Regions from separate parts of the Homo sapiens genome. Here regions 1, 3 and 4 are each linked to region 2. The links are contacts of gene promoters, found by promoter capture Hi-C in human tissues and cell types (Jung and others, 2019). All regions are on one chromosome and are shown on one strand. Each heading gives the region's core, a stretch centred on a gene start or on the middle of the fragment in contact. The rest is flanking DNA. Distances are from core to core; before and after follow the strand shown. Region 1 overlaps STX11 (syntaxin 11). Region 2 holds the start of UTRN (utrophin). Region 3 overlaps UTRN (utrophin). Region 4 has its middle 1.9 kb from the start of TRL-TAA1-1.

Region 1 (2,700 bases), core at 192-2,691, 100 kb after region 2:
GTTAAATGCACAATAATGAGGTCCTGGCTTCTACATAAGTCACAGAGTTTAGAAGGCTATCTAATGGCATGAAAAGCATATATACTCTGTTAGGCATAAAAAGTAGTTATGGAGAAAGAGAATGTGCAGCATTCTGAAACAGAAACTTGAGTAATACACATCAAAGTGTTAATTATAGTTTTCTTTGAGTTGTGGAATTATACATGGTTTAAATTGCTTCCTTTTGCTTTTCTGTATTTTCCAAAATTTTTATAATGTCCACACACATTTCATAATTTAAAAACCCCCATAAAACAATAAATACTATTCGTTTAAAGGACTAACTCCTTAGCAACTTTTAAAAGTCTATGCATGGCAATCAAGTTAACATTTTATGCTACCTGGGGAAAGCACATTAGCTAGTTTGCGTAGAGTTGAGCTGTACCCATCTGCTTAAGTTAGTACCCAATATAGTCTACCATGCAACAAGTGGATGAGATGGAATGGATGCATTTTGATGAACAAGGCAAGAATAGGTGAGAGATGCCTTCCTTCCTTACATGTTGGCCAAGCCTTACAAGGCACTTCAATGGAAGGAAATGGGTAGATAAGGGACTGTACCACGCCCTGGGACACTAGGGATCATTTGTATGTATCCTGCTTATCCTAGACAGGTCCTGTGCTCTGTATTGCTCTCCTACAGCCATTAAAAAGCTATTGGGGGAAATCATCTCATCACAATAAGAAGAGTCAAGTACAATTCAATCATATAGAAAATGGTTTTGGAAGATGTCCAGGGACAGTCATTCCTTCTCAAGATTGAACAACCATAAAGTCATAGATAGCAAATTATAAATCAGGTAAGGGCCCAAGCTCATGTGAAGGCGCAAGTCCATAATGTGCTAATAAGAGAAAAAGAAAGGGTACAGGAGACATAAAGATTCTCTATTGAGGTGTGGTAAAGGAGGGAAGGGGGCCTTCACCTGGCCTTCCTGCCCACCTCTCTTGGCTCAGCCAGCCTTGGATGAGTTGTCTCCACTGACATAGAAGGTCTCCTGGTCACCAGGGAGCAAACATTAGGAAAACTACAACAGAAAGTCAACGAAGAGACTGCTATTCCTAAGAATGTCTCCAAAAAGGTTAAAAGTGTATACACTACTGAAGTTATACAAAAATATAGAAGTGGGCACAAATAGAGAATCAAAATAACCTATATATCCCATAGCTTGATTCTGTACTATGAGTTCCTAGAAAGAGAACTATGGTAAATGAGAAAGAAAAATCAGACAATTCCACTGACCTTCCTGTCTTATTGTAATAAAAGATAATGTAATAAACTTTGGTAAATTGCATTCATCAAGTTGCTAAAAATAAGTCCTGCTTCAATTTGCATGGAGGTGAAGAATTCAAAAGAAAATTGACAACCAACTACCAAAAATCTGCTTCTGCTTTCTAATTTTCTTTTCAGGCATGCATATAATCTGTACTGAAAACCAGATCCAATAAGGAAGGAAGGGGGTATTGCTTAAGCCTTTTTTCATTGAGCAATAAAGTTTTGTGTAAGAGAAAACAAAGGAACAAAGAGATGATGGTAGCTCAGTGGTCCTCGGTCTGCAAGAGGTGACAGAATCTTCTGGAGAGCTTCAAAGATTACAGATGCCTGGGCACCTAGAGTTTCTGATTCGGTAGGCCTAGGATGATCTCCAGGTGATTATAATGCATACTCAAATTTGTGACCCATTCCATAGATACCTACCATGTCAGCTTTTTTTTTTTTTTTTTTTTTTTTTGAGGTGGTCTTGCTCTGTTGCCCAGGCTGGAGTGCAGTGGTACTATCTCGGCTCACTGTAACCTCTGCCTCCCGGGTTCAAGTGATTCTCCTGCCTCAGCCTCCCATGTAGCTTGAATTACAGGCATGCACCACCACGCCCAGCTAAGTTTTGTATTTTTAGTAGAGATGGGGTTTCACCATGTTGGCCAAGCTGGTCTCAAACTCTTGATCTCAGGTGATCCACCTGCCTCAGCCTCCCAAAGTTCTGGGATTACAGGCATGAGCCACTGCACCTGGCCCATGTCAGCTTTTTATTCATAATTATCATGCAATTCTGGAGAACTTATAATAATTCCTAGCTTGGGGGCAATCTCGATGAGCAAAAACCTGATAGAGAAGGAAAAGGGGTAGCTACTGGCCTCTCTCCCCCACTGGAAAGATGGTGGCTTTCATAAGCACTGCCTTCTGGCTCCCTGGTATGGAGGCTAAATAAGAAAGTCAGCTGAAAACTCACTTTCATAAAAACAATCTCTGAAGCTCAAAAGGAAAAGGAATCAAGAATGTTTGAAATAGTTTATTCTGATCCCTTCATTTTATGATGGAAAATTATAATTGTTGCAGGCATGGGAGTATGAATAAAATTGAAGACTGAGCTTACTATGATGAGGCACCCTCAGGTACATGAATAAATACTCTGATAGCATTCACAGGGAACAAGGAAGGATGGTGATATTCTATTAGTTAAATATTCTAGCCATTGAGACCTAGATCCTGCTTTGAATAGCCTACTATATTTGGCACATAGAATCTTAAAATTTTCTGTCATATCAGGAAGGAACAATTCAGAAAGCAGGTTTCCACCTACCTCAGCAGACCAAAGAGTGGAGGTGACAATCACATTGTATTAGTCCATTTTCACACTGCTGATAAAGACATACCCAAGACTGGGA
Region 2 (2,700 bases), core at 22-2,521:
CTCGGACCCCGGGCCAAAGCGGGGCATGAATTACCTTGTCAGTTGCAGCAAGAGATCCCCAGAGTCCGGAAAAGGAGAGCCGGCGACTGCGCGGGACTACACACCAATGGGGCGCCCCCCTCCTCCTGTCCCCTCAGTCTCTCCAGGGCCGCTGCCAGGGAGCTTGGCGATCGCGCCACACTCTCCGGAGCCCCACCCTTGGGAGCAGCAACCACCCAGAGGTCAAGCACGTTCCCCGCCGGGCGGCTGGCTGGGAAGCGCTCCGCTGGCCGCCGACCACACAGCCACCCTCTGCCCACCCTCTCCTGTGGACACCGCCGGAGCCCCGCCTTCCCCGGGCCCGGGTGTCTGTGACAGACTCTCCTAAGAGGCCACGTCCCCTCTTGCAAATCACTGGCCCAGCGCCCTGCACCGCGCGATGCACGGAGGGCGACTCTGTCACCCCGGCGGGGAGGAAGATTAGGGGAGCAGGGAGGCAGCACAGAGCTGGTCAGATAAGTTTGGATCGTTCACAACTAGTACGGATCCCAAGGACCTCCACGCCCGAGCTCTCCACGCCTCCGGCATTCTCTCTCGCACCGCGGGGAGCTAAACTGAGGCCCCGAGGAAAGGGCACGCAAAAGTTACTCCCATCTTCGACTCTGGGACTTGGGAAGCAGCTCGGGACGCCGATCCCAGGCGGAAGAACCACAGAAAGAGCCATCCTCCTCCCGGCCCCCGCCCCATTCCCTCGGGGGCTGTAGTCACATTACCAGCCCGAGGCTTCAATAATGCATGGGCTTACCTGCTGCCCGCGGGCCTCCTCGCCTGCCGGTCGCCACCGCCGCACCCCGAGCTGGCCAAGGGCTCCTCTAGGAGTTTGACACGGAGTAACCGCGGGGGTGTGTGCGAGTGTTAGTTTGGTGGTGCGATGTATTTAAAAAAAAAAATAAAGCTTGGAGAAGCAGACACGAACCGAAATTTTAAAAAAAGAAAGAAAGAAAGAGAAATTGACACCCGACTGAAAACGCCCCTTACTTGTGCAATCTTCCTGCCTGGTAGTTCCGCCAAAAACAAAACAGTCAAAGCGCAAACCTGGAAGGGGCGCGCAGGCACCAACTTTGCCAAACGCTACAGAGTTTTCCGTTTGCAGAAATGACCCAAAAGAAGGGGGGCGCCGCTCCCCGTGATTCCCCAATCGGCTTCTGGAGCCAGAGGCTCCTCCTCGCCCCTCGGCGGGAGAAAGCCCGCGGCCGGCTGCTGCTGCCCGCTTCCCTGCTCCGAGGAAAAACGACTCCACAACTTTGTGCGCGAGAGAGGCTCGCTCCTTCGGCGGCTCCTCCTCCTCCTCCCCGCTGCGGGCCTGCCCCTTTGTTGGAGCCGAGCGCTGGAGGCGGAGGAGGGAGGGTGGGGCGCAGGACCGCTGGGTCGCGCGTTGCCGCCCCCACCCCCCGGGAAGGGGCTCGCCTCCGGGCAGCCAGGGGTCCGCTCTCCAGATGAGAAGGGTGCAGATCAGCGCCAGCCCTCCGGCCCGCGCCTCTGCAGCGCTCCGGCTCCCCCTCGGCGCTCTCGCCCCGCCGCCGCCGGCCCAGCAACTTTGTTCCGGAAGATCAGCCCCACTACGTTCCCGGGTCAGCGTCTGCCGGGCCTCGGCGGTCACCGCGGCCACCGCGTCGGGAACTTGGCGCCCCAAGTCACCTGACTGCGCGCCCCGTCAATCAGCGCCGGCCCTGCGCGCCCTCCCAGCCCGCAGCAGCCCGGCTCGGCGCTTGGCTGGCCTGGGGCGCGCGCTCCAGAGTGAACCGTGCGTGCCGGGAGCCGGGAGTCCGGAGACCGAACCAGAATGGATGCCTCGAGCAGACACAATTCCCCTTATTCAGATTATCCGAAAATGTGAGTCACGTCCCCTTAGGCAAAACAGGTCTCTAGTTAGGGTGATATTTTTTTAAGAGATAAATTCCAATCTGCCTTCCAACTCACCCCATCTCAGTTTGCTGACGTTGCTGATTTTTTTTTTACCCCTAGTTCCAACCGTATATTTATTTTACATTATTTCTCTAGTGTCGTTGTTAATATTGAAAAAGAAGTTTTCTCTTACATTAGTTTGTATTACAAGTAGTGTTTGCGCTGACCTTATTTTTCTGTTTTCCAATATGCACACACAAACGCACATCTGTTATAGAGCCTGTTCCAAGCTTGAGAGGTTGACCAAAAAATATCTGGGAAGAAATGAGCTCGTGATGTGTGTGCATTTTTCTTATTTACACATTTCATTGCTCGTGTGTTCCTGTGATTCTTTTACACGATCAGCACACGTGGGAGGGGAAAGAAAACAGCAACCTGAGTTCCTAGTTCGTATTAACAGAGAAAAGGATGGTTGATACTGGAGCGCCGGTTTATTGCTGGCTTAATATTTGAGTTAATTTACGCGGCAGTAAAGATTAAACCACTAGGGGCCTTAAACTAATTTTCAGAAAGAGTTTACTCGCCTTTTGTTATAGTGAAAGTTTCCCCCATCCATCCCTAAGTGCTCCAGGGAGGGGGCAGGTAGGAGATTCCCAAAAGAGACTCTTCCTTGTAAGGTTTCTAGGACAGTTTCCTTCCTTTTGATGATTTTCTACGTATAAGCCAAATAAAATCCAAAGGATTAACTTGAAATGGGTATGATTTTATTCATTCACTTCATTCATTCATTTAACAAGCATCAGTTTAGGGCTGTCA
Region 3 (2,700 bases), core at 10-2,509, 100 kb before region 2:
CCAGGAGGCGGAGGTTGCAGTGAGCCAAGATCGCGCCGCTGCACTCCAGCCTGGGCGACAAAGTGAATGAGCCTCCATCTCAAAAAAATAAATAAATAAAATGGGAAGAAAAAAATAGAAGATTAAGGCAAAACAAAATGCTACCAACAGATCACACCAAACTACCTAGACTTTCTCCAAAGCCTAATATTTTACTCACTTTCAGAAAAAGAATAGAAACCTGGGAAAAAATGAGGAGTATCTGTCCTTTGCTTATGTACTTTGATGAAATGCCAACTACTACTATAAATAGCATTTTTTTAAATAAGAAAAAATGGAGTATTTCGGAAGTGGTTTTTGGTTTTTTTTTATATTGAGTTTTTTTGTCTTTATTTGGAGTGTTTTAATATCCGCCATGACAAGTTAAAAACAAAATGTAAGATCATAAAAAAAGGAAGAAGAGTCATTTTAATAATTAAATTTGTAAAATTGCACATCCGCTAAAATGCAATCCTTTGTCCAAGATAAATATTTATAATAAGCAGGAAAAACAAGTCAGAAAGGAACACTGCATTCCCCTTCAAAACTCAGGGCTAAAAATTTCTTCCCATGGACATCACAGTTTAAAAATTGGCCCATAAATCACAGAACTCTTTGCCTAAAAGGGTATAAATTGGAAGTTAATAAATAAAATAATTGAAAGGTTTAGTCTCATATTGAAAAATACATATTCTTATTTTTAATTTTCATAACTATGAAAAGGTTCACATAAACTACTAATACTTTTTGTTTGTTTGTTTGAGACAGAGTCTCACTCTGTCACCTAGGCTTGAGTGCAGTAGTATGATCACGGCTCACTGCAGCCTTCAACTTCCGAGGCTCAAGCGATTCTCCCACCTCTGCCTCCCAGGTACCTGGAGGGCATGTGCCAACATGCCTGGCTAATTTTTGTATTTTTCTGTAGACACGAGGTTTCGCCATGTTGCCCTGGCTGGTCTCGAACTCCGGGGCTCAAGCAGTCCGCCCGCCTACACCACACAAAGTGCTGGGATAACAAGCATGAACCACTGCTCCCAGCCTTACTAATGAATTTTTTAATTAAAAAGCTCATTCAGGTAGGGTTGGATGAGGGGGACAGATAAAATCCATTGCCTGAGCAAAAGCGCAAGAAACTTCATTTACAGGCCACTCACTTTCCTAATGACTTCCTTCATGTTAACTTCTTGTCACTGTTAAAAATTAGGGTTCTGGGCCGGGGACAGTGGCTCATGCCTATAATCCCAGCACTTTGGGAGGCTGAGGCAGGTGGATCATCTGAAGTCAAAAGTTCAAGACCAGCCTGGTCAACATGATGAAACCTTGTCTCTACTAAAAATACAAAAATTAGCCAGGTGTGGTGGTGTGCGCTTGTAATCCCAGCTACTCAGGAGGTTGAGGCAGGAGAATCACTTGAACTTAAGAGGCGGAGGTTGCACTGAGCCGAGATCGCACCTCTGCACTCAAGCCTGAGCGAAAGAGCAAGACTCCGTCTCAAAAGAAAAAAAAAAAAAAATAGAGTTCTGGCAGCACTGTCTTTATTTAATAGTCTACTGTGAGTCTGACATTTATTGCCTTTAAAAGAAAAAATTTGTAAATTCAGTCTATACTATCACTGGGTACTGCAAACTTGCTAATTATATCTTCAGTGTAAAATAGCTCTTCCTCTCATTTGTCTTGAACATTTGCTGGTCTTTTAAGCATCAAAAAGTCCAGATAACTGTTGAAGGTTAGAAGAATAAGTTTATGTTTGCTTTTCTGAAATAAGCTTATAGCTGGTAAGTATGTCTTCTTTCCACTTTCATATTTTTAGACTGAAGAGTACTGATCACCTTAGTCAGTTTTACAAAAGTAACAAATGCATTCGCTCCGGGACTTGGGTTTCCTTCACTAGAATACCTTCCACTGTTAAATCATTTAAGTAGGAGACCAGAATCTCAGATCGTAATCCATGTGCACAGTCAACATGGCTTTGCAAAGGAAGGATAACGTTCTCTGTTTTCTTTCTTGTCTCCTTCCTAAGGACACCCCAAAACCTAGCGTTTTTCTGCATTACAGCACTGCAATGGCATCTTTTAGGAACACTAGAATTACTCCCTTCCCTGAACCTATGGACTGTATAAAATATAACTCGTGATCACAAATTTTTCTTGGAGGTTAGCAAGAGTCAATCAAACAAAAAGATTTGGATGAATGATCTTTCCTCAAAACTTTAGCATTTCCCTCAAGATAAGAGTAAGCTAACTACCATTACCTAGGGTTATGTCAAGGAGAAACGGGATCTGAGTAAAAAGCATATGCAATGATATAACCAGAAGAACTGAAAGCAGAATCTCAGAGATATTTGTACATCCATGTTAATAGGAACGCTATTCACAAAAGCTAAAAGATGGAAGCAACCCAAGTGTCCACAAACAGATCAATTAATTAGCAAAATGTGATATTTACATAAAATGGAATAATAACCAGCCTTGAAGAGAAAGGAAATTCAGACACATGCTACAACATGGATGAACATGGAGGACAGTGTGCTAAGTGACACAGCCAGTCACATAAAGAAAACTATGGTATGATTCCACTTACATGAGGTACCTAGAATAGTGAAAGTAAAATGGTGGTTGCCAAGGGCTAGGAGGAGAGAGGAGTGAGGAGTTGTTGTTTAATGTGGCGGTCCCTAACCTTTTT
Region 4 (2,700 bases), core at 168-2,667, 67 kb after region 2:
TATTTGAAAGTAAAATGAAAAACAAGCAAAATAATTAAGGCTTCCAAATTCCAACTTCCTACTGAGGACCAAGAACGCTACTTGTTCAGGATCTCTCAAATTGGACATGACTTCTGTGTTTTAAAGCTGATGGCTAATCCAGATATCTATTATCCTTCAACTTCATAGCCAGATTTGGAATTGGAAAATGAACTGAAACAAACAAAGAAGATGCAGTGCAATAAAGCTTCTATTGATACAATGAAAATAATGTCTCGTGCAAGTTGTATCAGTGATTCAGGATTATTTTCAATGGCAGGTTTATCATTAATGATTACAAGAGAAAAAAGAAAGTCAATTTACTGGCTGACATAGATATAGCCTGAATCTGCTTCCAAACACAGTAACTGTGGAGCAAATTATCAGAATTCTATAGTCAGAACAAGGCAGACAGAATTTAACAAAAAATTTGCCTCAACTTAACCAGTAGGTGTCACTGCGTAAATACATTGGTAGCAGCTTTTCCTACAGAGATCTATGTAAAAGCCCAATAGAAAATAAACAATTTTGAATAACTTACAACTAGTTCAAACCCACAGAGAATGTTTATAAAGCCACACTGTTAATTTTTAATTCAAAGGATTGACTTAAGTTCTTTTTGTTAAAATAATTATTAGAAAATCATTATAAGTTTAGTGGCAGTATACAAATTTAATGATTCAAATTTAATTTAAACTAATGTAAATTTAATTCAAACTAAGTTAACGATTCAAATTTAACTTCAATATATTCGCTATGTTTTAAGAACTTTTGAAAATATATAAAGAATCTAATATAACAAATCTGCTTTTCAAGGAAAAAATCCTGGGCTTTTAAGGAGGAAGAGAAAGACTGAGCTCAGTCTAACTGGCTATTAACAGAATTAAACAATTTTTCCCCCAAAATATTTTCTACCAATTCAACATGCCCCCCATCCCAAGCCTATAAAGACAGACCAAGATTCTCTACATCGGTAGACACAGATACTTCCAAATGTAACACTTGTCAGGTTCCTTCTGTTGCAAATCCTTCAGGGCATCCTGGGCATCATACTTCACAGGGCCCCCAGATGGCTCCCACGTGGCTTACCCCACCTGTATCTGTCTCCCTCTCCCTCTTGCCCCTCCCTCATCCCTGCTTCTCTTCTTTCACCTCTCAACTAAAGCTGGCTCTCTGAGGAAGAGTCAGGCCTTCCCAAACCACTCCTTTAGCACCTTGGGCATAATTCATATTTTTTCATTACAAATGTGGCTTATTAAAATCTCTGTCTCTTGCTATCTGAGCTCACTGAGACAGAGGCCGGGTTATTTATCTGCACATCCCAAGTATCTAATAGTGAGTGGCTCAGAGCCTGTTCTCAGTTGCTGGCAGGATGTTTATTTCCAAAATATGTAGACACTCTTTTTCTCTTTCCTTTTTGAACAATTCAATTCTAAAGCCATTACATGAGCTTAAGCAATGTATAGATCTGCACTGGGGAGGCAGGAATTCAGGGAGTTACAAACATGGACAGGGAGACAAAATAGAACAAAGTCTATAGTGTTGGATCAGAATTGGAGGTATATATAAACTCCTTGATATACATAAAGATATATGAATAAATATAGATATATATTTATATAGATATACAAATAGATAAATATGCACACACACACACTCCTTAATTCTGTCTACCCAGAGGGCCTGGAAGTAGCAACACCTCAAAAGCAATGAGCACACCTAGCACTGAGACCTTGGTTTCTAGATACCATTCTCCACTAAAAGGAACCAAGGATCTTTAGAAAATGGCTGATTCTAGTACTGGGTCAGGAAAGCACAAGGTAAATCTGGACCATCTTGGAGTAGGAAGTAAGGAAGTGCTAAAGAATAATGCAGACAGGTCAAAAGTCAGCTTGAATGGGCTGTCACTGGCCCAATCTGAGACACTCTGAGCATCAAAATGAATGAATGGATTGTAACCATTAATTAAAATAGGGCACCATGGATACATACGTACATAACTTATAATTCCATAAATAATTGAATAAAATGAAAATTTGATAAGGCACCGGATATTACACAGCTTCAAAGCACTTCCCTCTAAAACAGGTACTAATCACAAAGGGAAAACAGTAACTTTACAGAGGAGAAGCCTGGCAGAGAAGCAGGCCACACGGAAATCATGCGACCTGAGAGGCTGCCGTGAGAACACTGCATGGCTTCTGTGGAAGTCCTGCTAAATAAACAGAGCCTGGATCTCATCAGGAGGAAACACCAGAAAACCTAGACTGACAAAGGGACATTCTACAAACCGGCTGGCTTGTCAGCAGAAGTGTCAAGATCATGAAAGTCAGCAGAGGCTGAGGAGCTGATCCACACGGAAGAAGCCGAAGGAGACAGGACAAGTAAATGCAACGCATCATTCTGAAGAGGAGCCTTTTGCTATAAAGAACATTCTTGCGACAACTGGTGACCGATTGCGCACCGAGGATTAGATGGTATTAAATCATCAATGTTAATTTCCTGATTTTAATAGTAGTACTTGGGCATCCACTAGGTATTTTACTTTTAAATGATTCAAGAGAGGAAAAAAAGTTATTTGCAGTGTACTTGCAACTTTTAAAAATTCTTAGATGGCTCTCATTAAACAAACAATTTTAAAGGGAGAAGAAGAAAAAAAAAACTTGACCACGCTGTATTTAA

Evidence for each region. The method cuts DNA at HindIII sites, captures the fragments that hold promoters and counts their contacts. A contact is called where the count stands out against the background at its distance.
Region 1: a fragment that was not itself captured here is called in contact with the fragment with the promoter of UTRN in region 2 in 3 of the 25 tissues and cell types used here (hippocampus, lymphoblastoid cells and spleen).
Region 3: a fragment that was not itself captured here is called in contact with the fragment with the promoter of UTRN in region 2 in 5 of the 25 tissues and cell types used here (adrenal gland, heart left ventricle, hippocampus and 2 more).
Region 4: a fragment that was not itself captured here is called in contact with the fragment with the promoter of UTRN in region 2 in 5 of the 25 tissues and cell types used here (bladder, dorsolateral prefrontal cortex, liver and 2 more).

Annotation. Positions count from the first base shown.
Region 1 is chr6:144,180,662-144,183,361 of GRCh38, reverse strand. The region is part of intron 1 of STX11 (syntaxin 11); the gene reads right to left. Among named protein-coding and RNA genes, the nearest start is that of STX11, 31 kb to the right of the region's middle. The HindIII fragment of the contact is 4,950 bases long and covers 1-2,700 here.
Region 2 is chr6:144,283,906-144,286,605 of GRCh38, reverse strand. UTRN (utrophin) reads right to left here and starts at 1,271. Exons shown (of 75, transcript NM_007124.3): 1 at 785-1,271. LOC124901418 reads right to left here and starts at 108. Exons shown (of 1, transcript XM_047419641.1): 1 at 1-108. RefSeq lists silencers at 1,332-1,431, 1,642-1,701 and an enhancer at 1,832-1,901. The HindIII fragment of the contact is 2,482 bases long and covers 1-1,554 here.
Region 3 is chr6:144,384,538-144,387,237 of GRCh38, reverse strand. The region is part of intron 2 of UTRN (utrophin); the gene reads right to left. Among named protein-coding and RNA genes, the nearest start is that of SNORA98, 20 kb to the left of the region's middle. The HindIII fragment of the contact is 6,242 bases long and covers 1-2,700 here.
Region 4 is chr6:144,217,055-144,219,754 of GRCh38, reverse strand. No RefSeq gene overlaps it. Among named protein-coding and RNA genes, the nearest start is that of TRL-TAA1-1, 1.9 kb to the right of the region's middle. The HindIII fragment of the contact is 9,184 bases long and covers 1-2,700 here.